Regions from separate parts of the Homo sapiens genome. Here regions 1, 2, 3, 4 and 5 are each linked to region 6. Evidence: promoter capture Hi-C in 16 types of primary human blood cells and fetal thymus (Javierre and others, 2016). All regions are on one chromosome and are shown on one strand. The core of a region is centred on a gene start or on the middle of the fragment in contact, and the rest is flanking DNA. Distances in the headings are between cores, read along the strand shown. Region 1 holds the start of WDTC1 (WD and tetratricopeptide repeats 1). Region 2 holds the start of CD52 (CD52 molecule). Region 3 overlaps WDTC1 (WD and tetratricopeptide repeats 1). Region 4 holds the start of CRYBG2 (crystallin beta-gamma domain containing 2). Region 5 holds the start of DHDDS (dehydrodolichyl diphosphate synthase subunit). Region 6 holds the start of ZDHHC18 (zDHHC palmitoyltransferase 18).

Region 1 (4,762 bases), core at 151-2,650, 410 kb after region 6:
TACTCCTCTAAATGGGGAGAAATCTCCCTTGCGGAGAAATCACCAGCAATTAGAATACTACCTTTGTCTCTGGGAGTATTCAGGTATTCACAGACAAATTCGTACTCATGATGTGAGCAGAATTGGAAAAAAAAAAAAAAAAAAAAAAAAAAAACAAGCGACACATGGAGTGATAAACACTATAAATGCCAAATACATATATTCAGTCCTTACTGAGAGCGGGTGCTGTCTGGTTTTCACAGGAAAGACAGGCAGTGTTAAAAGGCTCAGACTCTGGTGTCAGGCAGATCTGGGTCTAATTCCCAATTTGCCAACTTATCAGGACCCCGGGGGCAAGTTGCTTTTAGCCTTTCTGCTTCAGCTTTCCTTTTCTGCAAAACACAGACAGCAATAGTACCTAGCTAAGAGACTGTACCCAATCCAGTGCGAATAAAAGTGAATTATTGTTAGTATCTGACAAATGGCACCCTATGGGTGACAAGTTTCCTTTGTCAGAAGGTGACACGTCTTCCCTTTCTGACTTGAGGTTTCACGGGTGGGGCCTGGTCTCTGCCTTAAGAAGATAGGCTTAGTGCCACCCTTGTCACCTTGGGAACTTCCTTAATAAAGAGGAGGGTCTCTCCTCCATCAGACCCGGGACTCCACAAGGCTGGAACTGCGTCTCTTCCTCAGAGGTGGGAGCAGCAGTGACTCCGCTAGGGTCAGATGGACCTAGTCGCTCCCATCACCCCGAGGGCACCCAGAGTGTGTGTGGCTGACTCCTCTCCAGGCTACTCAGCGTAGGCCCGATTCTCTTTCATTCTCTTCCTTAAGGCCCAGGAGACGTCAGTGAGGACTGTGCCACTTCAGCAGCCCCCCAGAGCAGGAAGGAGTGGGCTGAGGAGCCCCCCGGGGCCCTAGCCTGAGAGGTCCCAGAATTCGGGGGCTGAGAGGAAGTCTTAGGAGCTCTTAAGGGGCTGTGAGGGGACCTGGGGTTCAGTGGGCGAGCGTGTGGGCGGGTGTCCCAGAAGCGGTGTGAGGAGCGTTTTACCCGGTGGTGGGGTGGGAGGTGCGTCCGGGTAACTAATGGCAACCGGGCGGGGTGAGCCCGCTCTGCAGGAACTCCTCGACGGCGAAAAACTACGACTCCCAGGGTGCCCCAGGGCTTAGCCCAGCTTTCCCGCCCGCCCACTGGCTGCCGGTCCCGCAAGCGGCGAAGCCCATTGGCCACGGCGGTGCGGGGCTCCCCCACTAGCAGGTTAGTGGGCGCCGCCGGCAGCAGACGTTGACCGGGCGCGGGGGGGTAAGTGGGGGGGCCCGGCTAGCCATTCTGGAAGCGGCCGGGCGCAGTCTTCGTAGCGTACCCGCCGGCTGCGAGGCGCAGGGCGGAGGCGGAGACTGCGTGGCGCAGGCGCGTTGCTGGGCTTCTCCTGGGTCCCCAGACAGCTGGAGGAGATAAACAGAGGAGGAGGAGGGAGGGGAGTGCGTGTGTGAGAGCGCGCGAGGGAGTGTGAGTGTGTGTGAGCGCGGGTGTGAGGCGGTGCGCAGGGGCGGGCGGAGGCGCTGTCCGGCCCCGGCCAGGCGCCGGGCGGGGAGCATGGGAAGGGGCTAGAACTGCTCGAGCCCCCCAGCCCCCTCCCCGGGATCCGCGCCCCCCTTCCCGGGAGAGGGGCCGCCCCCCCCGGACGGACATGGGCTCCTGAAGTTGCGCCGCTGCCGGTCGGGGGAAGAGACCTGACAGGTACGGGTCACCGCCGCCCCCTGCCCTCCGCGGGCGCCGAGGCGGGGACCGGCTCCCGCAGCCCCGGTGAACGGGCCGCCCGCTCTGGGCCGGCTCCAGCCCTGCCGGCCTGGGGGCCTGAGCCTACCCGCCTCGGGGCCCCGGGTGTCCCGAGAGGGGCCAGGCCTCGCCGGGGCGGAGGGCAGAGTGGTCCGGGGGCGGGGTGGGGGCGGAGGGTTTGGTCGGGACGCGGGGGGAGGCTGTGGGAGTCCGGGGAGGCTCTGCGGAGGGAGAGGTGGAAGTCATTCCATCATGGGACTTTTTTGCGGAGTTTTTGTTTGACATCTGATCTGGCGCCGGAGTCAGGAAGAAGGGGCAGGTGTAAGTGCTGGGAGGGCAACGCCGACCTGACCTGCCCTCTTAGCTTCTCGCTCTCTCTCTTTCTGTTTTTCTCTCTCTCTTTCTGTGTGTGTGTGTGTGTGTGTGTGTGTGTGTGTGTGTGTGTGTCCACAGCAGATGCCTTCAGTGGCCCATCCTGGCACCAAACAACTCTGCCAAGGTGTTTCCACCAGGCGACTGTAGCACCCCGTATACAAAGGGCCTCTGCTTGGGAACGGGCTATTCAGTACCCACTTCAAAGGGTAAATAGGAAGTGAGGAGATAGAAGAGAGACTGCGAACCAGCAGGATCCACTTCTTGGACTGAAAGCCGCAGTGGGACGCCCCTTTGCCAGATTGGTTGACTTTGCTTGGTGGCTTGGGCTCTCTCTCCTCTGCGGGTGTACTCCCAGGGTTTCTAGAGGAGAGGTACAGGGGCCTGTAACTAATGTCTTAATAGCCGAATTTGACTGTTTTCCCCAGAGTTCTTTTCTTCTGTGACTTTCTTTAACCTCCTGAAGTACTGGTAGAGCAACGTTATAGTTTTTCTCTCAAGTTGGTGATTTTAGGAGCCTGGTAGGGTGGCTGAAGCTTCCCCATTCATTCCAAGGATGGGGTAGATGATCTGGGTAAAGTGGCAGTGAAGTCTTCCCTTTCTAACAAAGCCTGAAACCGTTTTGAGAAGAAACTATTTTGAGGGCAGCTTCTGACTCAAAGACGTTACGAAATCCCCACCTAGGACACCGGTATGCCCAGTGGTCCCTACTAAGCTTTTCTGTGTCTTTTAGAGTCGTTGAGTGGCCAGCTTCTGCTCACTGTACTGAAGGAACTACTTAATGCTATTTCTGTCTTGAGTTCTGGCTTATTCTTCCTTGTGATTCTTATATCTTTAGCGGGATTGAATTGAATTTTTGCTGTTGAGTGTAATAGCCAGATCCTCTGTAACAGACCAGGGAGTAACTAGTTGGGCTCCTTTGGGCCAAGTCTGAGACTTACTGAGGTTTCTTCATTGTAGGTTGTTGTATTTCGTTGGCAGGTGGGAAATGACCTTTTCCGTCATAGTTTGTGATCATGCTGCTTTAAGGCTGGAGTCCTGCTCTCCTTTCCTTTTTTGACCTATATGGGAGCACTTCTGTTCGAGTCTTATCTCAATTTGAAGGAACAGTGCTTTTGGATCAACTCTGCCGAATAATTGAGCAGTAGCCCATATTTCTGCCTGGGACACCTTCATTGAGGGTCACGAGGGAAAGAGAGAACACGTGTAAATATTATGATGATGATGTTAACAACTATTTACCAGTTTCATACAATTGACAGTTTTTTTTAGCCGGGAGGAGTTCAGTATTGACTCATTGGGCATCTTATGTAGGGTGTTTTTGCACACCTAGACTTTAGGATCTGGAAAGACAACTGAAAATCTTGAAGCCCACTGCCAAACATTTGTGGATCTTGGGCCAACTGCTAAGGAAGATCTAGACTATGACTTGGTCTTTAATTATTTTTATTTTTTTCTCCTTTATGTATGTATGTATTTATTTATTTATTTTTTGAGATGGAGTCTTGCTCTGTTGCCCAGGCTGAAGTGCAGTGGCGCGATCTCAGCTCACTGCAACCTCAGCCTCCTGGGTTCAAGCAATTCTCTGCTTCAGCCTCCCAAGTAGCTGGGATTGCAGGTGCCTGCCACCATGCCCAGCTAATTTTTGTATTTTTAGTAGAGATGGGGTTTCACCATCTTGGCCAGGCTGGTCTTGAACTCCTGACCTCGTGATCCACCGACCTCGGCCTCCCAGAGTGCTGGGATTACAGGTGTGAGCCACCGCACCTGGCCTCTCCTTTTATTTTTATTTTTTTGAGATGGGGTCTCACTCTGTTGCCTGGGCTGGTCTCAAACTCCTGAGCTCAAGGGATTCTCGTACCTCTGCCTTCCTAGTAGCTGGGACTACAGACACGGCCTCCGTGACCACTCTCTTCTCTCTTTTTAAAAATTAAGGAATGTTGCTGACATGTGCAGTTCTGAGTCTCAGAGAGGAAGTCAAACAGAACATGTAATCTGGTGATACTTGTGTTTTCTTTGGGTCACTGGTTTAGTTATCTATTCTGTTTCCTTTCTTCTTTCCACCTCACCTTTCCAGATGCTCCACTGTATCTTTAGGCTGCCATTGCAGATTGCTGGGCCCACAAAACCCTTAGGTTGTACTTTCTTAGCTGTCATCTCTTGAAAAGCCAAAGTTCTGGCAGTTGCTATTAGAAACCAGTTCCTGGCTGAGCGCGGTGGCTCACGCCTGTAATCCCAGCACTTTGGGAGGCTGAGGTGGGCAGATCACGAGGTCAGGAGATTGAGACCATCCTGGCTAACACGGTGAAACCCCATCTCTACTAAAAATACAAAAAAAATTAGCCGGGCATGGTGGCACGCGCCTGTAGTCCCAGCTACTCAGGAGGGATTTTCCTACTAAGGCAGGAAAATCGCTTGAACCCAGGAGGTGGAGGTTGCGGTGAGCTGTGATCGTGCCATTGCACTCCAGCCTGGGCAACAAAAGTGAAACTCCATCTCAAAAAAAAAAAAAAGAAAAGAAAAGAAAAAAAAGAAAGAAGCCAGTTCCTTGGTGTAGTTAATTTACTTTGAGAGGTATTTGCCAGTTGGGATATGTCCTAAAAAGTGACTGACATTTTATTCAGGGCCTGG
Region 2 (4,359 bases), core at 1,800-4,299, 510 kb before region 6:
TCCACCCTCCACCACCCCAAAAATTAGCTGGGCATGGTGGCATGCACCTGTAGTCCCAGGTACTTAGGAGGATGAGGCGGGAGGATTGCTTGAGCCCAGGAGTTCGAGGTTACAGTGAGCTATGATTGCACCACTTGTACTCCAGCCTGGGTGACAACGGCAAGAACCTGACTCGAGGGGAAAAAAAAAGAGTTTGCCAGGTAAAATAATTGGAGAAGGGCTTTCCTTGCAGAGGAAATACATGGACTGTAGAAGATACTCCTCAGGGTGTCAGGAGGTGAAAATGAAGCTTCTGAGGTTTGCAAGAAAATGTTTACAAATAAGAGTCTGGCATTTAGTATCCTCGCATGCATCTCCAGCATGGGAAACTATAACACGGCTGGCCCCAGGCTCGTCCTGTCTGGCTGCCTCTTTGTAAGAGGGGAGAAGATTGCACAGTGTGATGGAGCTCATTTTCAGCAGAGTAATCTCAGACTTCAACACGGGTATCCTGTCTTCTGGGCTGGTGCCCTTCTGGCACAGGACACCTCCCTGACTCTCATGAACCCCAGAATCACTCACCCCCACAGGCACACCAAAGACAGCTGAGAACTTGAGTCAAGGGTGAGGAGAGACCTCTGGGTGAAAGGGCAGGGATGGGGAAAGAGGGTGATGGATGGCTGGGGACTCCTCCCTCTTCTCTCCCTCCCCGCCCCTCCCTCTCCACTTCCTGGCTTTCTCTCATCAGCTTTGACTCTCAGTTCTTCTTTTCTTCTCTTCTCTTTTTTTGAAATGGAGTTTTTCTCTTGTCGCTCAGGCTGGAGTGCAATGGCACGATCTCGGCTCACTGCAACCTCCTTCTCCCGGGTTCAAGTGATTCTCCTGCCTCAGCCTCCCGAGTAGCTGGGATTACAGGCATGTGCCAGCACACCTGGCTAATTTCTGTATTTTCAGTAGAGACAGGGTTTCACCATGTTGGCCAGGCTGGTCTAGAACTCCTGACCTCAGGTGATCCACCCACCTCGGCCTCCCAAAATGCTGGGATTACAGGCGTGAGCCACTGTTTCCTGGCCTTTTTTTTTTTTTTTTTGAGACAGGGTCTTGCTCTGTCACCCTGGCTGGAGTGCAGTGCCACAATCATGGCTCATTGCAGCCTGGGCCTCCCAGGTGCAAGCAATCCTCCTGCGTCAGCCCCCAAGTAGCTGAGACTATAGGTTTGTGCCACTATGCCCGGCTAATTTTTTTTTTTTTTTTTTTTTTTTTTGAGAGATGGGGCCTTCCTATGTTGCCCGGGTGGTCTCAAACTCCTGTGCTCAAGTTATCTGCCCGCCTCAGCCTCCCAAACTGCTAGGATTACAGGCGTAGCCCCTATGCCCAGCCTCTGTTTTTTTCTTTGGACTCAGCCTCAGCCAGATCTCCCCTGGGCTTGCAACACAAGGCCCAAAACAATAGAAGAGAAGTGAGGGGAGTTTTCCCTTTACTACCTAGCATGTAAATGAGGCCTAAAGTAGACTAAGGAAGGGAGAGTGTGAAGGGAGAGTGGGCCAGAGCTGGGGTTGTGGTGACCAACTCCTGGGGCCTGGGGGGAGTTTGTGTAGGGGAGGGGGAGGGAGTGGCAGGGAATCAAGACTTAATGGATGAATTCTAGGGCAGCCCCAGAGGTTACATACATGGCTGTGGCTTCAGACAGACCTGGATTCAAGGTCAAATGAGACTGGCTCCACCATTTACGACCTTAGCAAGTCACTTAACATCTAAGCCTCAGTTTTTTCACCAGTCAAATGGGGATAAACATAACACCTGCTGCAGGGCACCACAGAGGGTATCAAGTGAGGGAATGCATAAAGCATGGAGCACTATCCAGGCAGCTGTGGGATTCCTCTCATCCCCCCACCCCTCCCTGGGCCCTCACAGCCACTCTCTCACCCCAGTCCCCTTCCACTGTAGCTTAGTCACCCACTTGTCCCTTCCCTCGCTCCCCTCCCATTCATCCTCAGCTAATACAAACAACCCATCTGCTTGCTACTTTCTCTACCAAAATCACAAAATTCTAGGTCTTGGCTGGGCGCGGTGGCTCATGCCTGTAATCCCAGCACTTTGGGAGGCCGAGGCAGGCGGATCACTTGAGATCAGGCATTCGAGACTAGCCTAGCCAACATGGTGAAACCCAGTCTCCGCTAAAAAAAAAAAAAAAATACAAAAAATTAGCCAGGCATGGTGGCACACACCTGTAGTCCCAGCTATGCGGGAGGCCAAGGCAGGATAATTGCTTGAACCCAGGAGGTGGAGGTTGCAGTAAGCCGAGATCATGCCAGTGCACAGAGCAAAACTCTGTTTAAAAAAAAAAACAAAAAAACCAACAACAACAAAACAAAACACTAGGTTTTAACAAACTTCAGAAATAATCTATTTCAGTCTTCCCAGTTCCTTGAAATGAGGAACTGAGGCCTAGAGAGGGAAAGCCCAACTGAAACCAGGCTTCCCGATTCCTCACCTCCAGCACCTTCACAGAAATCCACCAACCCTTCCACAATCTAAACATTTCCCAAGCTTTCATTCAGAACCTGCAGCCCATCTACAACCTTCCCTTGAAACATAAATCTATCCCAGCCCTTCTCCTTCAGCTCCTATACCCTGCCCCAATCTTCTTTAAACAACAAACTCATTTACGGAATATCTGCTATGTTCTGGCTCTTTTTAAATTGGTTATTATTACATGTAATCCGGCAGTTCTTTTGTTAAAGGGTCAGAGAGGTAGAGTTTCTGGCCCAGGGTCTCAGAGCTGGTCAGTGATTAAACCAGGATTCAGCCTGCAGGATGCATGATTCCAGGCCTTGGGCCCTACTTACTCCCACCGTTGCCTCTGGATTGACCTCTCTCCTATCTTGTACGATCTAGCCTGCTCCCCCAGCCAGGGCCTTAGAACCTAGAGCCTGGTATTATCCACCCCCAGATCTGCAGAAAGGAAGCCACACCCCTCCTCCACCTTGTAAGCCCTCCTTCCTCTCCCTACCTCACCCCGCCTCCTCTGCCTCCTGGTTCAAAAGCAGCTAAACCAAAAGAAGCCTCCAGACAGCCCTGAGATCACCTAAAAAGCTGCTACCAAGACAGCCACGAAGATCCTACCAAAATGAAGCGCTTCCTCTTCCTCCTACTCACCATCAGCCTCCTGGTTATGGTACAGGTAAGAGCAACGCCTGGCACCACTGCCAGGACTCCCCAAAGTTGCTTGGCATGGAGGGAGGGCATACAGGATGTGAGCTCCCAGAGACCCAGCCTTCTCTCCTGAGAGCACAGCAGATGGACTCCAACAGGAAAACTGGGGACACAGCGGGCCTGGCCGCCCAGCCTTCCAGCTCTTCTGGCTGGGGCTGCACTGCTTGCGGGCTGCCCTGAGAGAAACCTGTATCCACAGCTGGGGAGCACTTACAGGGTGCTAGGCGCGTTGGGGCACCCAAGGGGTGTTGTGGAATAATAGAGAACTAAGAGACTTGGGAAGACAACCCTGAGTGAGGAAGGCATCGGCCCACAGGGAGTCTGGGGAGATGGTCCTTTGGGGAGAGGCCAGGAGATGTCCAAGTGGAGCCTGCTGTGGTTATGGAGGTGACAGGGGACACTCTAACCCCCACTCCCCTGCCAGAGAGAAGCCTGGATGTTCAGGAATGCAAAGAAGACAGGACTCTCCCATTTCAGAAACAACTGGAGTCTCAAAAGCGACTGCTATTCCAGGAGGCAGCTTTGGTAGCATCCCAGGTGCCCAGAGGGGAGTCAGTACAGCAGACCGGAGCCATCAAGTTCTTGATCAAGAACAGCTTGATCACCATCAAAACCAGCTTAATCTCCATCAAGAACAGTTCTAGTTGCAGCTCCATCAAGCATTAAGGACAGCTCGATCACCATCTGGCCACTTCCCCACCCCACATCCAGCCACCCACGCTTTGCCAAGTGCTTTCTCACTCAGCCCTGGCTCATGTGACCTTCACAACTGTGATGAACTTCTCCCCACTCAGAAGATGAAACTGAGGCTCAGGGAAGCTAAGCCCTTTGCCAGGCTAGGAAGGTCAAGGGCCAGGGCTCCCCTGTCTCCCTCTATGCCAGAAGGGCTGGTCGCTGGGGAAAGGTGAAAAGAAAGGTTCTGTGACCGGGCACGGTGGCTCACGCCTATAATCCCAGCACTTTGGGAGGCCGAGGCAGGCGGATCACCTGAGGTCAGGAGTTCAAGACCAGCCTGGCCAACATGACAAAATCCCGTCTCTACTAAAAATACAAAAATTAGCTGGGCGAGCCGGGCGCGCTGGCTCGCGTCTGTAATCCCAGCACTTTGGGAGGCTGAGGCGGGTGGATCATGAGGTCAGGAGATCGAGACCATCCTGGCTAACA
Region 3 (4,730 bases), core at 1,760-4,259, 480 kb after region 6:
GCGTATCTCCCATATATATTCCAGCGTGAGCACCCCCAACAATATGTAGCCAAGGTTGTGTGTTCCCCTCCACCATATACACCTCCTGGCATGTATGTGTACCTCCCCCTATAGATAGTTTAGTCTGTGTATTTCCCTCCCCCTCCCCTATACGTGTACCCTGGTGCCTCTCCCTCCCTGAGCCCCACGTGTGTCACCCCTTTCTCCACCACAGAGTGAAGACCTCACAGGCCGAGTCGTGGAAGATATGGAGGGTGCTTCACAGGCCAACCAGCGGCGCATGAATGCAGACCCGTTGGAGGTGATGCTGCTCAACATGGGCTACCGGATCACGGGCCTGAGCAGTGGGGGTGCCGGGGCCTCTGATGATGAGGACAGCTCTGAGGGCCAGGTGCAGTGCCGGCCCAGCTAGACCCTCCAGCCCTGGTCCCCAGCCCCTGCTACTGGCTGGACCCTCTGCCCTGGGCAGGAGGTCAGGGGATTCTGTTTTGGTTTGTCTTCCCCACCACCCTTTTTTTTCATTTCCCCTGTTTTGTTTGTTAGTTTGGCGTTAGGGGTGGAGGTTGCTACAACTTGCTGGCTTTCGGACTCTGGGCTGATTGTCCCCTGACTATCCCCAGCCCTGAAAAAAAGAGCAGGAGGGGACACCCCTCCATATGCCCCCCCCCATCTCCTGCTTTCATGTCCCTGGAGGGCTCTGGCCTGCCTCAAAACCCCTTCTGCCTCAGGTGGGGAGGAACAAGCTGAACTGTCTTCAGGGACTGTCCTGCCCTTTAGCTGGCAGCAGCAGGAGGAGTGGGATTCCCAATTGGTAAGGGCTCGCCTTGGCCTGTTGCCACTCTTGCTCCCTAGCCTGCAAGGCTAGCTCCCCTGTGGTCTTCAGGAAAGGTTTTGAAAAAGGATGGGTCCCACCCTCCCTCCAGAGCCACCAGTGTTAGAGCGGAGCCCAAAGGAAGGATGGGAGCCCTGGAGTGGGCAAGACCAGGCCACCTGCTGAGGTCGCTGTGGAGCACCCTCGCTCCTCTCCTGGCTACTAGCTCTGGCCCTGCACCTACTCTCACTGGCCACCTCTGGAGGCTCTGCCTTTCCCAAGGGCCCTGGCAGAGGGTGGGGCACTGCACCTTACCCCACCCATCCATGCCAGCACTTCTGCACTACGGCCATTCTCCTCTTGGGCGCTCCTCAGCCTCACTGTGACCTTTCTGCCAGAGCTCCCAGCCAGGCCTACTCTGCTGAGGTGGCGCTTCCTGCTAAGGGCCCTTCTCTGCCCTTTCTGCCCTCCTTCCCATCCCACATGCTGAGCCGCCACAAAGACCAAAGAAGTGATGGCTTTTCTCTGTCCCCTGCTGCTCTGAGGGGAGAGGGGTGGGTCTCCTGAGCCACTCAGATGGGAAAGTCCCTTACTCGGCCCCTCCCTCCCCAGCAGCCCCAAGCTTTACACTGGATGCAGCGATCAACCCACCACTCACCAGGCCTCTCCTCCCCTCTGCCCCCGGCTCTTAGCTCCAGCTGCTCCAGGTAGTTGGTTCATCCTTCCCCCTCTCTCCCTCCCTGCTTCCCCTTCAGTGCTTACTTGGCTCCAGCCCTCCAGCTGCAGCCCCTGGGGAAAAGCAGCCTCCCTTCTCCTCTCCCTCCACTCCCTCGCTCCCTCCCTCAGCCCCTGTCTCTGCCAGGTGCCTCCTCTCAGTCAGGCTTCAGAGCAGCCCTGGAGACAGGAGGGCCATGTTAAAAGCTTTTTCACAGTTTTAAGAAGACAAGTGGAGGGTGAGGATAGTGGTGGGGGGTCTGGCACCATCTCATTGCTTTAATCCCAGCAACACAGGTGGCAGCTTCTCCCCCTTCCTTCCCACCCCAGTCCCTCTTCCCACCCCTCTCTTCTAGCTTGGTAATGAAGTATATTTATTGGTGAAGGAAACAGCTGCTGCTGCTTCTCCTGCTGCTGGGACCTGCTCCCCTGTCTCTTCTCCGTGACCTTTCTCTAGCCAGGGAGAAGGGAGAGCAGGAGTATTGGGGCTGGGCCCTGGGGCCCAAGGACCAGCTGGGTCCCCTTTGCTTTCTTGTGTTCCAGCCACCTGCCATTTCCTCCCTGCCTCCCACCCTCCCTCCCTGCCCCCTGTCCTGCTTCCCACCCCCTGCCTGCCCAGCCTGGGCCCTGCAGTGTGGAGAGACACATAAGCCTTACTGTCCTCTGGGGGCAGGAGCCGAGCCTTTTTGTTGCTCCGCTCCCAGGAGAGTGAGGGTGACGCAATTGATTAAAACCATTTTGTTCTAGGTGTGGCTGGTGGCATTTGTGGGGTGCAGATGGGTCTTGGAACCAAAGTGAGGGCACCTGGTCCCTCACCTCTGTAGCTCTATGACTTAGTAACCACACCTCTACTGGACAGAATGAGGCCTGCCTTGAAGGGTCACCGTGAGCAGCGGCCACCCAGCCCAGCAGGGCTGAGTGCAGAGCCCAGCTCTCATGGCTGTGATTTGTAATCATCAGCTTTCACTCTCTGGCTGTTTTCTCATCAGTAAAATAAGGGACTTGGAATCTTAGTGGTTTTTCAAACCATTTTACATTGTGACCCAATATACACATGATTACTTGTAGATATGTGTGTGTGTATATATATATAAAAAAAATGAACAAAAGTTTTACACAATAATATTTACCCTTGCTACATGCAGTGTACTCTGCTTACCCTTCTGTTTTATTAGGGAAAAAAATATGGCTATAACCCACTAAATTGATTTCACATATGCAAGTTTTTGAAGTGCCCTGGATTAGATAATCTCTTAGACTATAGGTTCCTGAACTTTCTTAGCTCACAGCACCATTACCATCTCAGTAATTTTTTCATGGAGCCTCTAAGCCAAAAGAAATAACAGTTCAATTTATTAAGTAGTTAAGTCCAAATCACTTAAAAAGTATTTATGTCCTAACAAGTTAGTTGCCATTTAAAAAATAATACACCTGAATTGGAAGAAACAATATTTATTTCATTCTTTTTTTTTTTTTTTTTTTTTGAGACGGAGTCTTGCTCTGTTGCCCAGGCTGGAGTGCAGTGGCATGATCTCAGCTCACTGCAACCACCGCCTCCCGGGTTCAAGTGATTCTCCTACCTCAGCCTCCCAAGTAGCTGGGATTACAGGCATGTGCCACCATGCCCAGCTATTTTTTTTTTTTTGCATTTTTATTTATTTTTTATTTTTTATTTTTTTTTTGAGACAGTTTCGTTTTTGTCGCCCAGGCTGGAGTGCAATTGTGCAATTGCGGCTCACTGCAACCTCCGCCTCCTGGGTTCAAGCGATTCTCCTGCCTCAGCCTCCCAAGTAGCTGGGATTACAGGTGCCCGCCACCACACCCAGCTAATTTTTTGTATTTTTAGCAGAGATGGGGTTTCACCACCTTGGCCAGGCTGGTCTCAAACTCCTGACCTCAGGTGATCTGCCCGCCTCAACCTCCCAAAGTGCTGGGATTACAGGTGTGAGCCACCGCGCCCAGCCTTCATTCTTAAACAACTGCAATTACTAATGGGATCTATGCTGCCCATTGGGCACTGAACAACTTGTTAAATTTTCTAATCAAAGCAAACACTGCTGCCTTCATTTCCTGTCCCACATTGATTTTCATTTGCTTTTTATCACAGCAACCACTAAAGACCCAGCTTCTTTTTTTTTTTTTTTTTTTTTTTTGAGGCGGAGTCTTGCTCTGTTGCCCAGGCTGGAGTGCAGTGGTGCGATTTCGGCTCACCGCAAGCTCCACCTTCTGAGTTCATGCCATTCTCCTGCCTCAGCCTCCTGAGTAGCTGGGACTACAGGCAGCTGCCACCAGACCTGGCTTATTTTTTATGTTTTTAGTAGAGATGGGGTTTCACCACGTTAGCCAAGATGGTCTCGCTCTCCTGACCTTGTGGTCCACCCGCCTCGGCCTCCCAAAGTGCTGGGATTACAGGCATGAGCCACTGCGCCCGGCCAAGACCCAGCTTCTTAAAGATGACATCATCAAAAGGATTGTGGCATAATGTAATAATGGAACTGTGAACTACCTTGAGCTAATAGTTCTCTCATTAGCCAAAGATGTTGAATATCTTTCAAAATATCCTACTTTGCCCCCTGTGAATTTGCTGTGGGTGCCCTCAGGCACCTTGATGCACAGTTGGGGAACTATGGTTTAGTCTGTGGGAATAGCAGTTCCACTACTGAAACTACTGAGAGGTCCTGCCGGAAACACAATAGGTGGTATTATAAAACAGATACTGTGGGCTGGTATCATTCCTCTGTGTACCCAAATTAACGTCTGCAGAAGCTTCTTGAAGGCATTTCCAGACCAGACAAAGGAAGGACAATGTTCCAGACCAGGGAGTAGTGCAGAGTCTCAGGTTCCTTCATGAACCCTGAGTGACTCCATCTGGCTGGATTGTAGAGGGTAGACTGGAGGAGCAGTCAAACTGAAGGACTTCCTATGGCTGGTGAGAGACCACAGACTCAATCCTGTAGGCAAGGGAGGCATTGGAAGACTTCACGAGGGTCTCCATTTCATTTGGAGTTGGTACTCCATTTTTTAAAAAATTAATAGCCTTTACTTTCTAGAGCAGTTTTAGGCTTACAGAAAATTGAGCAGATAGTATAATGAGTTTCATATAACCCTCTTTCCCCAGCTCAATTTTCCCAATTATTAACATCTTGCATTAGTGTGTTGTTGTAATTAATGAACCAATATTGATACATTATGATAACTGAAGTCC
Region 4 (4,371 bases), core at 1,293-3,792, 470 kb before region 6:
AGCAATGTTAAAGGAGGCGGCCGATCATGAGATCAGATATTGTCGATGACCTCCTACCAATCAGAATTTAACGTCTTTCTCAACCAGCCCAACCCCTGGACAACACCCCTGATAGCCAGTCATTCCACAAGCATGTGGTCATTGGCTTCTGCCTGCATACCTCCAGGGACAGGGAGGTCACCACTCGACAGTTCACCTGCCCCGTCCCTGAACAGTCATGAGTGCTAGAATGTCCTTCAGACTCTGCTGGAATGTGCCTGCCTATAGATGCCCCCTTTTGTCCTTGCTCTGAAGACATACCCCAATACAATGACCCAGGATGCCTCTCCTGGGCCAGCAGAAGGGGCCATTCCCAGAGCCCTTTCTTCTGCAGGGCCCCAGACCAGAAGTGGATTTGTTGGCAGCGTGACCTGTGACCTCCAAACAAGGCGTGTGGAGCTGGGAAGGGAGAGGCTGAGGAGGGGGCGGGGGGAGTGTGGGAAAGAGCCTTGTCTAACCCAACAAGTCCTGGATTCTCCCCACTTACCTGTGAGTCACCCCCAAACTAGGCCAAACCAGTCCACAGGCCCACATGCAGGCAAACACATGCTGTGTCACACAGACGCAGGCACAGACACACAGACAGATACCGACACAGACCCACAATCACACAGGCACAAAGATACACCTAGAAGCCTATAAAAACATACACAACCAGGGACACACACACAAATATACACTCACCCAAGAAATACAAACACGCACAGGCACTCAGAGCCACAACAGACACACAAATCACATACAGACAGAAACACAGGCACAGTGACACACACGTGCACACATTCACAATACACACACAGTCAATTCACAGCCCCAAGCTCTCTTCCCCTTGAAATTCACCTACCCCTGAACGTGGACACACACGCTTGGATGCACACGTATCTTACACATTCCCACTGGCAGTCCCAGCTATGTCTCACTTCTTCTCGACTCCCATATTTGCCAATCTTGGCCCAGAGAACCTTCTCCCAGGAAGGGGACATAGAAGGATGATGTTTCTGGAGGTCACCTGCCCCCCACTCTAAGTGAGCCCTAGCCTCCCACCTGAGTCTGTCATTATCCACCTGGGCCCAAAATACCCAGGTAGTGGCAGATAGAAACCACCTCCCCCCAGCTAACCCTACTTCTCTTTCCCGTCCCCCTCTCCAAGGTAGCCTCCTCCACCCCCCTTCCCTCTCTCTGCAGCCCTTGTCCCCCAGCCCCTGACTTCTGGGGCATCCAAGCAGGTCTCAGAGCCAGCCTGGGTCCTACATCTCCCTCTTCCTTGGCACGGAAGCAGTCACATTGACCCCTGCTTGGAGGACCCCAGCATTCCTGATTCTGCCTCTGCTACTACAATGCTGCCCAATCCACCGCCATAGGAGCCTAGAAAACCCTGGAGCCCACACAGCAACCTCACTCAACCCTCCACTCTCTGCACAGGGCCAAAGAGGTTTCTTCCAGGCAGGATGGAGCAGTGGTTAGAGCACAGGCACTGGAGTTATAGAAACCTAAGTTCAGATTCTAGCCCCTTCACTTTCTAGTTGACTTTGAGCAAGTGACTTTCAGAGCCTCCTAGAATTAGGTGACAGGGGTTGGGATCAGTCCCTACTCATGGGATGGTTGGGAAGATTAAATAAAATTATGCTTAGAAAACAAATTGCAAATGACAGCCACCCCATCATCCTTAAGCACCCTTCAAAACCCCACCCCAGGCTCATTTCCTCTTCAGGGTCATCCCTGGGAGGTTCCATGTTCATCCCTCCTTGATGAGCTTTGGGGGACATATCCTTCCACCTCTGCGCCCCCCAGGCAGATTTAGGAGAGTCATTTCAACACAAATAAAACTAGGCTTGGGAAACTCGACACCCACTCCTTTGGCTTCCAGCTCAGAGCCAGGTGGGGTAATTATTGCTGTCACTGAGACGTAATTAATAAGCATCCCTGCTATTTTGGCACCCCCAGTCTCTGGAGTTCAAAGTATATTCCTGTAGCCACCTCCTCCTTCCTCATTTTCAGCTACCAAATCCTCTCAACAACTCAAGGCCCAGAGAGGTTAAGCAACTCGCCTCAGGACACCCAGCACCTAGGCTGGGTGCCAATTCCCAGGCTGAGTCTGTGGCCTCCTGAACAGAACTGGGGAGTGGTGTATGCTGTGAAGAAGGCAACCCCCCTTCCTGCCCATCCTCTCCCTGACAGACTTTCCCCTTTCTCAGATGGACAGTGGGGGTGAGAAGCAGTGGGTTCCAGGAGGTAGCCTGTGGGCAAAGGGAGGGAGAGGAAGGCAGGGTTGGAGCAGGGAGGGAAGGCAGAGTCGGCTCAGGGTCCTGAATGAATGGGCCTAGAGCTGGAGAGGCCCAGGGAATAGGCAAAGTCTCAAGACAGGGCAGCCAGGCCAGTCTCCCCTCCCATCTCCACACACAGACCGACCTCTACTCACAGTCTGCGTGGGGACCCAGGTGTCCAGCCAGCCTGGAGCTCCTGCTGCTGGGCCGTGCTCCCCTGATGCGATTGGGCTCTCAGCTGGGGTTCCTGAGGCGGGGCCGTCCGGCACCCTGTGATGGGGCGTGGCCCCTGGGGAGGCTCCCACCAGCCCTCAGATTCCTCAGGGCCGCAGAGGTGTGGAGCTGGTTGGGCCGGTTCTTCACCCTCCTCCCCTGGTGCTTGCCTGTGCCCCAGCAGGGTGACAGTGATGTAGTAGCGGGTCCTCCTGGAAGAGGGACGCGTGTGTAGGGTCTGGGCAGGCTCTGGCAAGGCAGTCCCTGGGGTGGCGGGCTTGCCCTTTGTCCCCTCTGCCCTGGGGAAGGATGCAGGGTGGAGCAGCAGGGGTGCGTCTTCCAGGTTGCTGGGTGGCTCAGGCCTCAGAGGGACCTCTGAAGCTGTGGGTGGAGACTGCTGACAGGTGCAGCCTGAGGATCCCTGCTCCCCATGTCCAGGAGCAGGCCCTGGGTATTGGGGGAGCCTGGTACGAGCAGACTCTCCTGAGGCCACTTCCAGGGCCAGGCTCTCAGGCCCCAGGGAGGCATGGCTGGCCAGGTCGAAGGCGCTGCCCACCGCTGGCCTCTGTAGGCGCCCCAGGGACTGAGCAGGACCCCCCGAGATTCCTTGTTGCTTCCAAATCCAGAAATCATCATGGTCCCCTACATGGATGTCCCATTCTGAGCAGCTCTGGCCTTGGGCCTGGGTGAAAACAGAGATAGACACTGAGAGAGGCAGGGGCATAGTGACAGCTCCCCCTGCCCTCCAGGCACCCCTGGTACCTGGTATCTTCCCTGTCACAAGGAAGCTGAACAGGGCTCTGACACCAAGGTAAGCTGCCCTAGGGAGAGGCTGCTAAGGCCACCAGAGCTGGACAAAGGGACAGAGCTCTGGGAAGGCCCTTCAGCATTTAACTCACCCCTTCCCATTCTACGTAAGAGGAAAGTGGGGCCCAAAGAAGACGGCGACATGACTGAGATCACACAGCAAGCCAGCGAGGGCTCCCAACGCTCAGGTGCCGCACTCCCTCCCAGGTGACAAGGCACCCAGGGCCTGGCCGGCCATGCCCCCCAAAGGCTGGAGATCTCAGCTTCCTTGCAGTCCTGAGGTGCTTCCCCGCCCTGGGGCTGAGGGCTGGGTGGGAAGGCCTGCCTCAAGTGCCCATGGCCTCTGCCCATTCCAAGCTAACAGAGAGACTGCGGCCACCTCTCTTGTACCCTCCCAGCTTGAGACAGAACACCTGGGAGGATGTACCTGGGATATAAGGGAGCCAGAGAAGAGGGTTCCCCTGAAATGGGACAACACCTGACCTCTTCTGCTGTCTTCCCCTGGGGTCCAGCCTGGCTGTGGGGATAAGAGGAGAGGGCTCAGCACCCCAGACCCAGATGGACACTGCCCCCAAAACGACCCGTTTTAAAAGATGGGCTGTTTCCTTGGCAACAGAGGAGGTCAAAATTCCGCCTAGCAGGGATCCTTGCTGCCAAATGCCTTAATTTACTCATCTATGAAACAGATGCAGCCTCTCATTCCCCAGGGGCTGACCACCTCAAGAGACAAGAGTACAGTGATGAACCTGGAGGCTTGGATCGAGGCAACCTGGGCTTGAATCTCCGCCCTGCTGCTTCCTATAATAGCTGCAGTACCGTTTGTATTTCAGTTTCCTCATGTGGAAAATGGGTGTGATAATAACAGTACCTGCCTCCTGAGAGTGTGGTACAGATGGTACAAGATAGTCCATGCAGAGGGCCCAACACATGACAAGTAGGCAATTAAACACTGGCAATTACTCATGGTATTCAAGACCCAAGAGAGACACATGGCTGCTTGAGCCACCTCCAGAGGAGGCTGCCCTCACTCCTCCAAGGGAAGAACACT
Region 5 (4,643 bases), core at 405-2,904, 390 kb before region 6:
GACATAATCAATTAGAAAGTGCCAATAAAACATCTCTTCCTTGCCTCATTTCTTTAATAATATTGTAAAATGAAATGCGACAAAAAGGTTCTTTGACAATTGTGAATTTTTATTCCACTCAAAACATAATACTACATAAAGTTGTATTATGCTTTGCAAGAAATACTGGTTGTGGCCGGGCGCGGTGGCTCACGCCTGTAATTCCAGCACTTTGGAAGGTCTAGGCAGGCAGATAACGAGGTCAAGAGATCAAAACCATCCTGGCCAAAATGGTGAAACCCTGTCTCTACTAAAAATACAAAAATTAGCCAGGCTTGGTGGCACGCGCCTGTAGTCCCAGCTACTCAGGAGGATGAAGCAGGAGAAACGCTTGAACCCGGGAGGCGGAGGCTGCAGTGAGCCGAGATCGCGCCACTGCACTCCAGCCTGGGCGACATAGCCAGACTCCGTCTCTAAATAAATAAATAAATAAATAAATAAATAAAAATAATACTGGTTGTATAAGAATCTGTAAAGAATTTTTTCCTCCTCTTTCAATTTTGAGAAAATTGAACTACAAATTTGTTTTGTGAGCCTAGAATTCTTGCAACCCTTTTTTTCGTAAAGGTTCAGTAGAGCTAATGCCCTTAACTTTTCTACCAGGGTTAATTTCTGTTATTTTCATTTATGTACTGCCAAAGCGAGCACCTTTCTGTTATTTTAGAAGTCATGCTTTTTTTTTTTTTCTTTTTTCAGACAGAGTTTCGCTCCTGTTGCCCAGGCTGGAGTGCAGTGGCCTGATCTTGGCTCACCGCAACCTCCGCCTCCCGGGTTCAAGCGATTCTCTTGCCTCACCCTCCCGAGTAACTGGGATAACAGGCGCCCGCCACCACGCCCGGCTCATTTTCTGTATTTTTAGTACAGACGGGGTTTCACGATGTTGGTCAGGCTGGTCTCAAACTCCTGACCTCAGGTGATCCGTTCGCCTCGGCCTCCCAAAGTGCTGGGATTACAGGCGTGAGCCACCGCGCCTGGCCTAGAAGTCATTCTTATGGCAGAAATCTTTCTGGCCTTACCCCTTCTCTTGAGTTCGTTGGGATAGGTCTTGGGAATCCACAAATCCTAAAATATGCGTGCCTTAAGTCGGCACAAAATAGATTAATATTCTGCGCGTCTGTAAGATTGGCTGCGGCTAGAAACTCCTTCCCAGACGATTAAATCCACTAAATAAAATACGAAACGGTAACGAGATAATTTTTAAGAGTATGCACCAGTGCTCTAATGAAGCCCGGTTCTGCGGCATTCCAAGGTAAGGACGCTGCCTTACCCAGTCTCTCAGCAGTCCTAAGCTGCCTTCGACGGCCGAGAAGCGCCTCGATTCTTGCCCCTGGCTCATTTCCCTGGCGCGTTTTCCAGACGCCTCCGCTCCCAACGCTGGGCTCAACCCTGTCTTCCCCAGCTGGTCTCCCAGCACGTGGCCTGGAGCCCAGCCTCCCGCCCCGCTCGGTCACGTGAGCCTGGCTCTCACCCGCGCCGGCTTCCACACCCCGCGGGACTGAGAACCGCCCTCCCACTAGCTCGCAGGCGCAGGCGCAGGGCAGGGTCCCCTCAGTTTGGGTGACGGAAGGGGCGTGTCGCAGCGCCCAAAGATGACGTGTTCTGCCAGCGCCACGTCATGAGGAAGTGCCGGCCCACTGAAGCCGTGGGGACGCGCCCAGCGGAGCTAATCAGGTGCCACTGAACTGAAGGGGTGAACTAGAGGAGAAGAGGGTGACTGGGCGGGGAGCAGCTGCGGGAGAAGCAAAGGGACGACTGAGGGAATAATCAGGAGACCACTGAGGCGTGAAGTACTAGGCGTGCGATAACTGAAGGAGTTAGTAACTGGGAGCACAGAGTTGGAAACAGCTTAGGGGAAGATGGAGAAGGAAGAAACGGGGAATGATCAAGATGTGGGCACCATGATGTGGCAGGAAACCGACTTAGATGTTCAGAAGAAGTCAGTGCAGATACGGAGGAAATGGGAATGGGAAGAAGTCTGCAAAGCCAGGAGAACCGAGGAAAGGCTTTTGCCTCCAGAGGTCACATTGCGTTATAAAACTCTGGGTGGTAAAAGATTATAGGCTTAGACCAGTGTCTTTGGATTCTAATGCTGGCTGCTCTCCATAGTCCATCTGATTCCCCAGAAGTCAGTTATAGCTCTTCGCAAACCTTGGTGACTTCTTATTTTCTTTCTTGTTTATCCAAGATTACCTGGCTGGTGTTTGCTTGTTCTGGAGTGATCTTCTGACTGGAAAAGAACTATGTCATGGATCAAGGAAGGAGAGCTGTCACTTTGGGAGCGGTTCTGTGCCAACATCATAAAGGTGAGCAATGGCCCAGAGCACCGGTTGGCCTTCTGGTCAGTTGGATAATCTTATATAAAAACCTGTTATTAAAGTTGATGATGTTAAGTGCAATTCATGATGTTAAGTGGAATTTAGCAAGGAAACCAAAGAGTCTTAGAATGGTAACTTCCAGGTCTACATTTCTGGTAGACTTTTGTCCTAACTCTGATATTTTCTGGAAGCCCAGGCCTCTTAATGTCACTGGGCAGCCTAGACTGCTAAGTATTCTTTATAGAGAACTGAAATTTGTTTCCCTGGAACATTGATCCATTGTTCCATGTACTGTCTTCTTGATTTAAATAGGTTAATCTTTGATATATTCTTTGATCTGTCAGTAGAGCTGGGCCCGGTCACTCACGCCTGTAATCCCAGCAATTTGGGAGGCTGAGGTGGGCAGATTGTTTGAGCTCAGGAGTTGAGACCAGCCTGGGCAACATGGCAAAACCCCGATTCTCCAAAAAATTAAAAAAATAGCAGGGCTTGGTGGTGTGCACCTGTAGTCCCAGCTACTCGGAAGGCTGAAGTGGGAGAATTTCTTGAGCCCAGGTCAAAGCTGCAGTGAGTCATGATTGTGCCACCACACTCCAGCCTGGGTGACAGAACGGGACTGTCTCAAAAAAAAGAGTTCAGAACAAGACTCTGTCTCAAAAAAAAAAAAAAAAAAAGAGTTTGGGCTCTAGACGCAGACAAACATGGGTGAAATTCCTGTTCTTTTTTTTATTTTGAGATGGAGTCTCGCTCTGTCGCCCAGGCTGGAGTGCAATGGCGCAATCTTGGCTTACTGCAACCTTCATCTGCCAAGTTCAAGCAATTCTCTTGCCTTAGCCTCCCAAGTAGCTGGGGTTACAGGCATATGCTACCACACATGGCTAATTTTTATATTTTTAGTAGAGATGGGATTCTCATATTGGCCAGGCTGGTCTCGAACTCCTGACCTCAGGTGATCCACCTATCTCAGCCTCCCAAAGTGCTGGGATTATAGGACTGAGCCACTGCACCTGGCCTGAAAGTCCAGTTCTATCATTTAGTAATCATGTGACTTTAACAACTGTAGAATTATCATGAGAATTTATGAGACATTAATATAAAGCAGTTAGCATAATGTCTAGCAGTTCTTAATTATTATTAGGATTGTCTTTCAGACATTTGAAGACTATTATCTCCTATCTTCCCCAAATCTTCCCTCAGCTTTTTCTCTAGGAATCACAGCAATATTATATCTGCCTAAGACAGGTTTGAGATTGGGGCCAGTCAGCTTGGTTTTGTTTTTCAACCACAGGCTGTCAAGCAGCAGGTAGTAATGAATTTATGAGTCAGTAACCTTTATACAAGCCCCACACATGCTCACAAACAAATGCCAAGTGATCTCAAGCAGTCCAGGAAATGGGAAGTATCTCCTTGGGGAACCACTGCAGTGGTATGTTTGGAAGAACAAGCTGCATAACTTGAATGGATTTTGGGGGCTGGAAAGGCTGTATGTGAGACAGAAGTAGAAAAAGGAGAAGTGTTGATGAGGAAGCAGTCAGGGAAGAGCCCTCCCAGGTGAGGAAAAATAGGCTAAGGAGTCCATTTGTGTTATGGGAGACAACTCAAAGCTGCTCCAAGCCAAATAAGGGTTTTGTTTTTTGTGGTTTCTTTTTTGAGATGCAGTCTTACTCTGTTGCCCAGGCTAGAGTGCAGTGGTGCAGTCTTGGCTTACTGCAACCTCTGTCTCCTGGGTTCAAGCGATTCTCCCACCTCAGCCTCCCCAAGTAGCTGGGATTATAGGCACCGGCCACCATGCCTGGCTAATTTTTTTTTTTTTTTTTTTTAGTAGAGTTGGGGTTTCACCATGTTGGCCAGGCTGGTCTCGAACTCCTGGCCTCAAGTGATCTGCCCACCTCAGCCTCCTAAAGTACTGGGATTACAGGCTTGAGCCACCACGTCCGGCCCCAAGTAAGTTTTGTTTGGCTCAAAAAAAGTCTTTTTTGTTTGCTTTGAAAAACAATTTTTTTTTTTCAGACAGAGTCTCACTCTGTCGCCCAGGCTGGAGTGCAGTGGCACAATCTCAGCTCACTGTACCCTCTGCCTCCCCGGTTCAAACAATTCTCCTGCCTCAGCCTCCCGAGTAGCTGGGATTACAGGCGCTCGCCACCACGCCCGGCTAATTTTTCTTTATTTTTAGTAGAGACAGGGTTTCACCATTTTGGCCAGGCTGGTCTTAAACTCCTGACCTCGTGATCCACCCGCCTCGGCCTCCCAAAGTGCTGGGATTACAGGCATGAGCCACTGCGCCCGGCT
Region 6 (4,498 bases), core at 582-3,081:
AGTTAAGGTGGGACAACAGGAATCTGTACTGGAACCAGTATGTCTAGTTTTGTGACTTTGTTCCACAGCCAAGGAGCAAAAAGGGAGGAAGCTCACCATGTGGTTTGCTCAAGATGGGGCTCATCATATTGAGAGCCTTTGGCACCAAAGGCACGGCTGAGCAGCCTTTGGCATATATATCAATTATTGATCCTTAAGGTCACTGTTGTCGGCTTCCTACTCCTCCCCATTGTATATTTTTACTTCCTTTTTTACTTTCTCCTAGTCTCCAGTTCTTTTTTTCCTTGCACTTTTCCTTAGGTTTTACAGTAACCACAGTGTGACAGACATACCCTAAGCTGACCCCCAATGATTCCTGCCTCCTGGTATTTACGCCTTGTGTGATTCCCTTTTCTTGAGTGCAGATGGCTCCTGTGCTTTGCTTTTAACCATAGGAGATGGCAATGATGATGGGATGCCACTCTGTCACATATATAGTAAGTTATATAAAACTCTATCATCATAGTCTGGAGCTAGAGACCCTCATTGTCAGTTTCAAGAAACTAAGTGGCTATGTAGGAGAAACCTGCATGGCAAGGAAATGTGATAATCTCTAGGAACTGCAGGTGGCTTTTGGATCCTGAGAGAGGCCTCCAGCAGACACCCAGCAAAAATCCCAGGCCCTCCTCAGTTATACAGTCACCCAGCAAAAATCCCAGGCCCTCTTCAGTTAAACAGTCGCAAGGAAGTTAATTCTGCCAATAACCCAAATGGGCTTGCAAGTGGATTCTTCCCTGGCTGAGTCTCCAGATGAGAATGCAGCCTGATTGCAGCCTTGTGAGACTAAGCAGAGGACCCAGCTAAGCTGTTCTCTGGCTCCTGACCTGGAACCTGTTAGATAACGTTTGTTTTTTGTTTTTTTTGAGACGGAGTCTTGCTCTGTCACCAGGCCGGGTGCAATGGCACAATCTCGGCTCACTGCAACCTCCACCTCCTGGGTTCAAGCAATTCTCCTGCCTCAGCCTCCCGAGTAGCTGGGACTATAGATGCCGTGCCACCATGCCCAGCTAATTTTTTATTTTTAGTAGAGACGGGGTTTCACCATATTGGCCAGGATGGTCTCTCTCGACCTTGTGATCCACCCACCTCGGCCTCCCAAAGTGCTGGGATTACAGGCGTGAGACACCGCGCCCGGCCGATAATGTTTGTTTTAAGCCTTAAATTTGTGGTAACTTGTTACACAGCAGTAGAAAATGAATACTCCCAGAATTCCTGAAAAAACACTGGGGCCCTCAGGCATGACCCCTCTACATTATGTGCTACCTAGGAAAATCTGGGCCTGGGCCCAGGACACAGAACTTGGTGAACGAGGCCAGAGGGTGTGCCACACACCTCCAGTGGGCACTCTGGACTTCAAGGTAGAAGAGGTCCTGGCTTTCAAAGCAAATCGTGTGCCCCACCTCCCCGCGCCTGCCTGCCTCTGCAAATGCCTGTCAGTTCGACCCTCAGAGATGGGCGAAGCCTGGGGAATTACAGACTGCCAGAAGTAGATCACGAAGTCCACCACCTGAATCTCGGCGTTTGGCACCGTGCCTGGTACACAGTGGACGCCCAACAAACGGCTTGCTTGCAGAACAGAAAGAGCCCTCGAGTGCGCGTCTGCTGGCCCCCTCTTTGTGCAGAAGGGAAAAGGGAGACTGGGAGGGCCGGGGACCTGCGGGGCCCCGCCGCGGGTCAGAGCTGGGCCTCCGGCCAAGCGCCATCCCGGGCCCAGGCGGAGGGGGCGCTGCGGCGGGAGGCCGCGGCGGGCGGTGGCGGCGGGCCGGGGGCGGAGCGATGGCGGGGCCGCCCCAGTGAGTGAGCGAGCGAGCGCCGCGCGCGCCGCCGCTGCCACCTCCGCTGCTCGGCCCGGTCCCGGAGTGGCCCGGCCGGCCCGCGGGGCGCGGAGCCGAGGCCCGCGGCTGGCTGCATGAAGGACTGCGAGTACCAGCAGATCAGCCCCGGGGCCGCCCCGCTGCCCGCCTCCCCGGGGGCGCGCCGTCCCGGCCCCGCCGCGTCCCCGACTCCGGGCCCCGGGCCCGCGCCGCCCGCCGCCCCCGCCCCGCCGCGCTGGAGCAGCAGCGGCAGCGGCAGCGGCAGCGGGAGCGGGAGCCTCGGCCGCCGCCCACGGCGCAAGTGGGAGGTGTTCCCGGGTCGCAATCGCTTCTACTGCGGCGGCCGCCTCATGCTGGCCGGCCACGGCGGCGTCTTCGCGCTCACGCTGCTGCTCATCCTCACCACCACCGGCCTCTTCTTCGTCTTTGAGTGAGTTCCGCTGCCTCGGCGCCCCCTCCCAGCCCCCTGCCGCGCACCCCACCTTCCCAATCCCTGCTGGGCACTCCGTGCCTTCCCCTTCGCCTCCCTGGTCCTCATCCTCCCCGCCCCTTTGGGATCCTCCTCGGGCCTCTTGTCTGCCCCCCTGGCCCCTGCGCACCCCCATCCCCGCCAGATGCCCCATCCTCCTTGGTCCATTTGGGTACCCCATCCGCGCTGGTGCCCTCCACCCTCCCAGCCCCTCCATTCTCCCTGACCCCACCCTGGCACCTGTCTGCCTGCCACTGCCAGGAACACCAGCCTCCATGCCCCTCCACGGCCCCCATCCTCGCTGCCCTCTCAGAACCTGCCCCAGGGCTTCTTGAACAGGCCCCTCCTGCTCACCCATCCCTGGACCATCTCTTGCCAACCCCCCAAGTTCTTTCTGACCCTTGTATCCCTTCCTGACCACTTCTAGATCTTGTGTGTCCTTTGGCTGTGCACACCCACCATAAACATCCTAGTCATCCTCGCTGCCCTCTCCGGGTCCCTCCAGGGTCCCCTCCTTTTCTCTAGTCTCAGACACCAACCCCGCTTTTGCTTCCCCTCAGCCACGCACACCCTAGGCCCCAAGGCATCTTTTCTCAAAATCTTTGGGCCTCTCGGGCCCCCTTTCCTTCTCCAGAACCTTCCTTAGGTTCTCCAGAGCTTCCTGTCCTTCCCTCAGATCCCGCCCGCCTCCACCCAGCCGGCTCCCAGGCCCCTGGCCCCCCTGCTGACCACCTGGCTTTCTTTCCCTGCTCAACATTCTGGAACGTCCCTCTGGCCTGTTCCACATCAGCAACAGCTGCGGTGCCTTGTTGTTTTTCAGGAAAGACTTCGGAGTGCTTTCGTGTGACAGGTCATATTTGCCCCCCTAGGTTTTTGTCCTCTTCATATCCCCCGGTGACCCAGGATTGGCCCACACATAATCTCCATTTTATGGATGGAGGGTCATATATTTGTATTAGAAGTTTTCCACCCACCTCTGAGCCACCTGCACTGTGATTCCTTGCACACACACTCACACGCCCACCCACCCACCCTTGCTTCATAAGCCCTGCTGTCCCCTCCCAACTCCCCATCCTTTGTGGTTGTTCCTCTTAATTATACAGTGTAGTTAAGAACTCTAACAGACCTGGTTCAAATCCCAGCTCCACCACCCACTAATTGCGTGACCTCAGGGCAGTCACTTCACCCCCTCAGTGCCCCAGTTTCCTCATCAGTAAAATGGGATTTATAATAGTACCCACCCCGTAAGGTTGTCCTGAGGGTGGCATGAGGTCACACATGCAAGCTTTTAGCCCAGTAACAAGCACACTATGTTGGCTGCTATTAGTACTTGTGTTGTCTTTATCAAAAAACACTTCCCAAGGGCATGTGGCCATGGTAAGGCTATCATAGAGACACCCGCCCCCAGGTACCCTTTCTAGCTGCCAGATCATGTATCTGCAACTTTGGGTTTCCCCTTGAAGCAAGGTGAAGACTTCCTATAAATTAGCTTCTCCCTTTACCCTTTAACCACACACTCTGCCCTTTTTTTTGAGTAGGGTGGATAAAAAGTTCAGGGATGATTTACAAGCAGAAGCTCTGGGGGGCCCAGAGCTCAGCTCTGGGCTGAGTTTCAGATCCACTTCCCTGGGCTGGCCACATGAGTGTTTTGGAAATGCCTTTTCTAGTATCCCCTGGGCTGCCCTCTCAGTCCCCACACCCAGGGCTGCAGCCGAGGCAGGAGGAAGCAGTACTTGCCGTGGTTGACCCACATGACCCTGCAGTGTGATATCTGGCCTAACTTCTGAACTAGAAGCAGGACCTTCTCTGGGTTGACCGGGTATCTTCACTGGTGACTGTTTTGTCCCCAGCGAGGGAGAAAGCAAGGACTTCTGGGTTTGGGGAGAGCTCGTGAACCATGTTGCAGTTTGTCCCCGCTTGTCCTCATTGGGGGCTGGTAGATTGGCAGAAGAGTTTGGGTTTGGGCCGAGAGCTCACCTGGGTCTGGACTGGATGCTCCCCATTGCTCTGGGAAAAGGTAAGGTGCTCTCTAAGCCTTTCCTGCTATGAATGGCTTTGCTTCTTTGTTTGGCTTGGTGGATTGTTGCACAGGCCTCCAGCAGGGCTCCCAACTTCTGCCTTACTTCTCGCCCCCACACAACAGCCAGAGTGCCCTTTTGATTCTAACTCAGGCCTG

Evidence for each region. Contacts are between HindIII fragments. The CHiCAGO score rates a contact against its expected background, and 5 or more counts as called.
Region 1: a contact is called between the fragment with the promoter of WDTC1 here and the fragment with the promoter of ZDHHC18 in region 6, in 11 of 17 cell types (monocytes, non-activated CD4 T cells, neutrophils and 8 more). The highest score is 14.4, in monocytes.
Region 2: the fragment with the promoter of CD52 here is called in contact with the fragment with the promoter of ZDHHC18 in region 6 in 13 of 17 cell types (erythroblasts, activated CD4 T cells, total B cells and 10 more); the score reaches 13.5 in erythroblasts.
Region 3: a fragment that was not itself captured here is called in contact with the fragment with the promoter of ZDHHC18 in region 6 in 5 of 17 cell types (monocytes, erythroblasts, M2 macrophages and 2 more); the score reaches 8.8 in monocytes.
Region 4: a contact is called between the fragment with the promoter of CRYBG2 here and the fragment with the promoter of ZDHHC18 in region 6, in 4 of 17 cell types (fetal thymus, activated CD4 T cells, neutrophils and 1 more). The highest score is 7.1, in fetal thymus.
Region 5: the fragment with the promoter of DHDDS here is called in contact with the fragment with the promoter of ZDHHC18 in region 6 in 6 of 17 cell types (total CD4 T cells, total B cells, fetal thymus and 3 more); the score reaches 7.0 in total CD4 T cells.

The regions. Positions count from the first base shown.
Region 1 is chr1:27,233,232-27,237,993 of GRCh38, forward strand. It overlaps WDTC1 (WD and tetratricopeptide repeats 1), which reads left to right and starts at 1,401. Exons shown (of 16, transcript NM_001276252.2): 1 at 1,401-1,720. WDTC1-DT (WDTC1 divergent transcript) reads right to left here and starts at 1,198. Exons shown (of 3, transcript XR_947117.2): 1 at 1,031-1,198; 2 at 214-371. RefSeq lists silencers at 1,221-1,280, 1,481-1,630, 1,821-1,870, 2,031-2,080. The HindIII fragment of the contact is 2,806 bases long and covers 1-2,665 here.
Region 2 is chr1:26,314,909-26,319,267 of GRCh38, forward strand. CD52 (CD52 molecule) reads left to right here and starts at 3,050. Exons shown (of 2, transcript NM_001803.3): 1 at 3,050-3,163. The coding sequence starts at 3,110. It also overlaps a transcript of UBXN11 not described here. RefSeq lists a silencer at 2,840-3,032 and enhancers at 3,107-3,176, 3,307-3,456, 3,830-4,359, 3,957-4,056. The HindIII fragment of the contact is 1,957 bases long and covers 2,528-4,359 here.
Region 3 is chr1:27,305,972-27,310,701 of GRCh38, forward strand. WDTC1 (WD and tetratricopeptide repeats 1) reads left to right here. Exons shown (of 16, transcript NM_001276252.2): 16 at 215-2,665. The coding sequence ends at 412. Among named protein-coding and RNA genes, the nearest start is that of TMEM222, 14 kb to the right of the region's middle. RefSeq lists enhancers at 1,285-1,810, 1,811-2,336, 2,337-2,861. The HindIII fragment of the contact is 2,559 bases long and covers 1,731-4,289 here.
Region 4 is chr1:26,351,588-26,355,958 of GRCh38, forward strand. It overlaps CRYBG2 (crystallin beta-gamma domain containing 2), which reads right to left and starts at 2,543. Exons shown (of 20, transcript NM_001039775.4): 1 at 2,449-2,543. RefSeq lists a silencer at 1-42. The HindIII fragment of the contact is 7,544 bases long and covers 1-4,371 here.
Region 5 is chr1:26,430,667-26,435,309 of GRCh38, forward strand. It overlaps DHDDS (dehydrodolichyl diphosphate synthase subunit), which reads left to right and starts at 1,655. Exons shown (of 9, transcript NM_205861.3): 1 at 1,655-1,710; 2 at 2,225-2,342. The coding sequence starts at 2,280. It overlaps LOC124903883 (a long non-coding RNA gene), which reads right to left and starts at 1,571. Exons shown (of 2, transcript XR_007065557.1): 1 at 1,307-1,571; 2 at 89-452. RefSeq lists enhancers at 874-1,410, 1,195-1,254, 1,325-1,384, 1,411-1,947, 1,485-1,974. The HindIII fragment of the contact is 8,751 bases long and covers 1-4,643 here.
Region 6 is chr1:26,824,857-26,829,354 of GRCh38, forward strand. It overlaps ZDHHC18 (zDHHC palmitoyltransferase 18), which reads left to right and starts at 1,832. Exons shown (of 8, transcript NM_032283.3): 1 at 1,832-2,283. The coding sequence starts at 1,949. RefSeq lists silencers at 1,614-1,766, 1,730-1,879, 1,890-2,099. The HindIII fragment of the contact is 7,154 bases long and covers 1-3,605 here.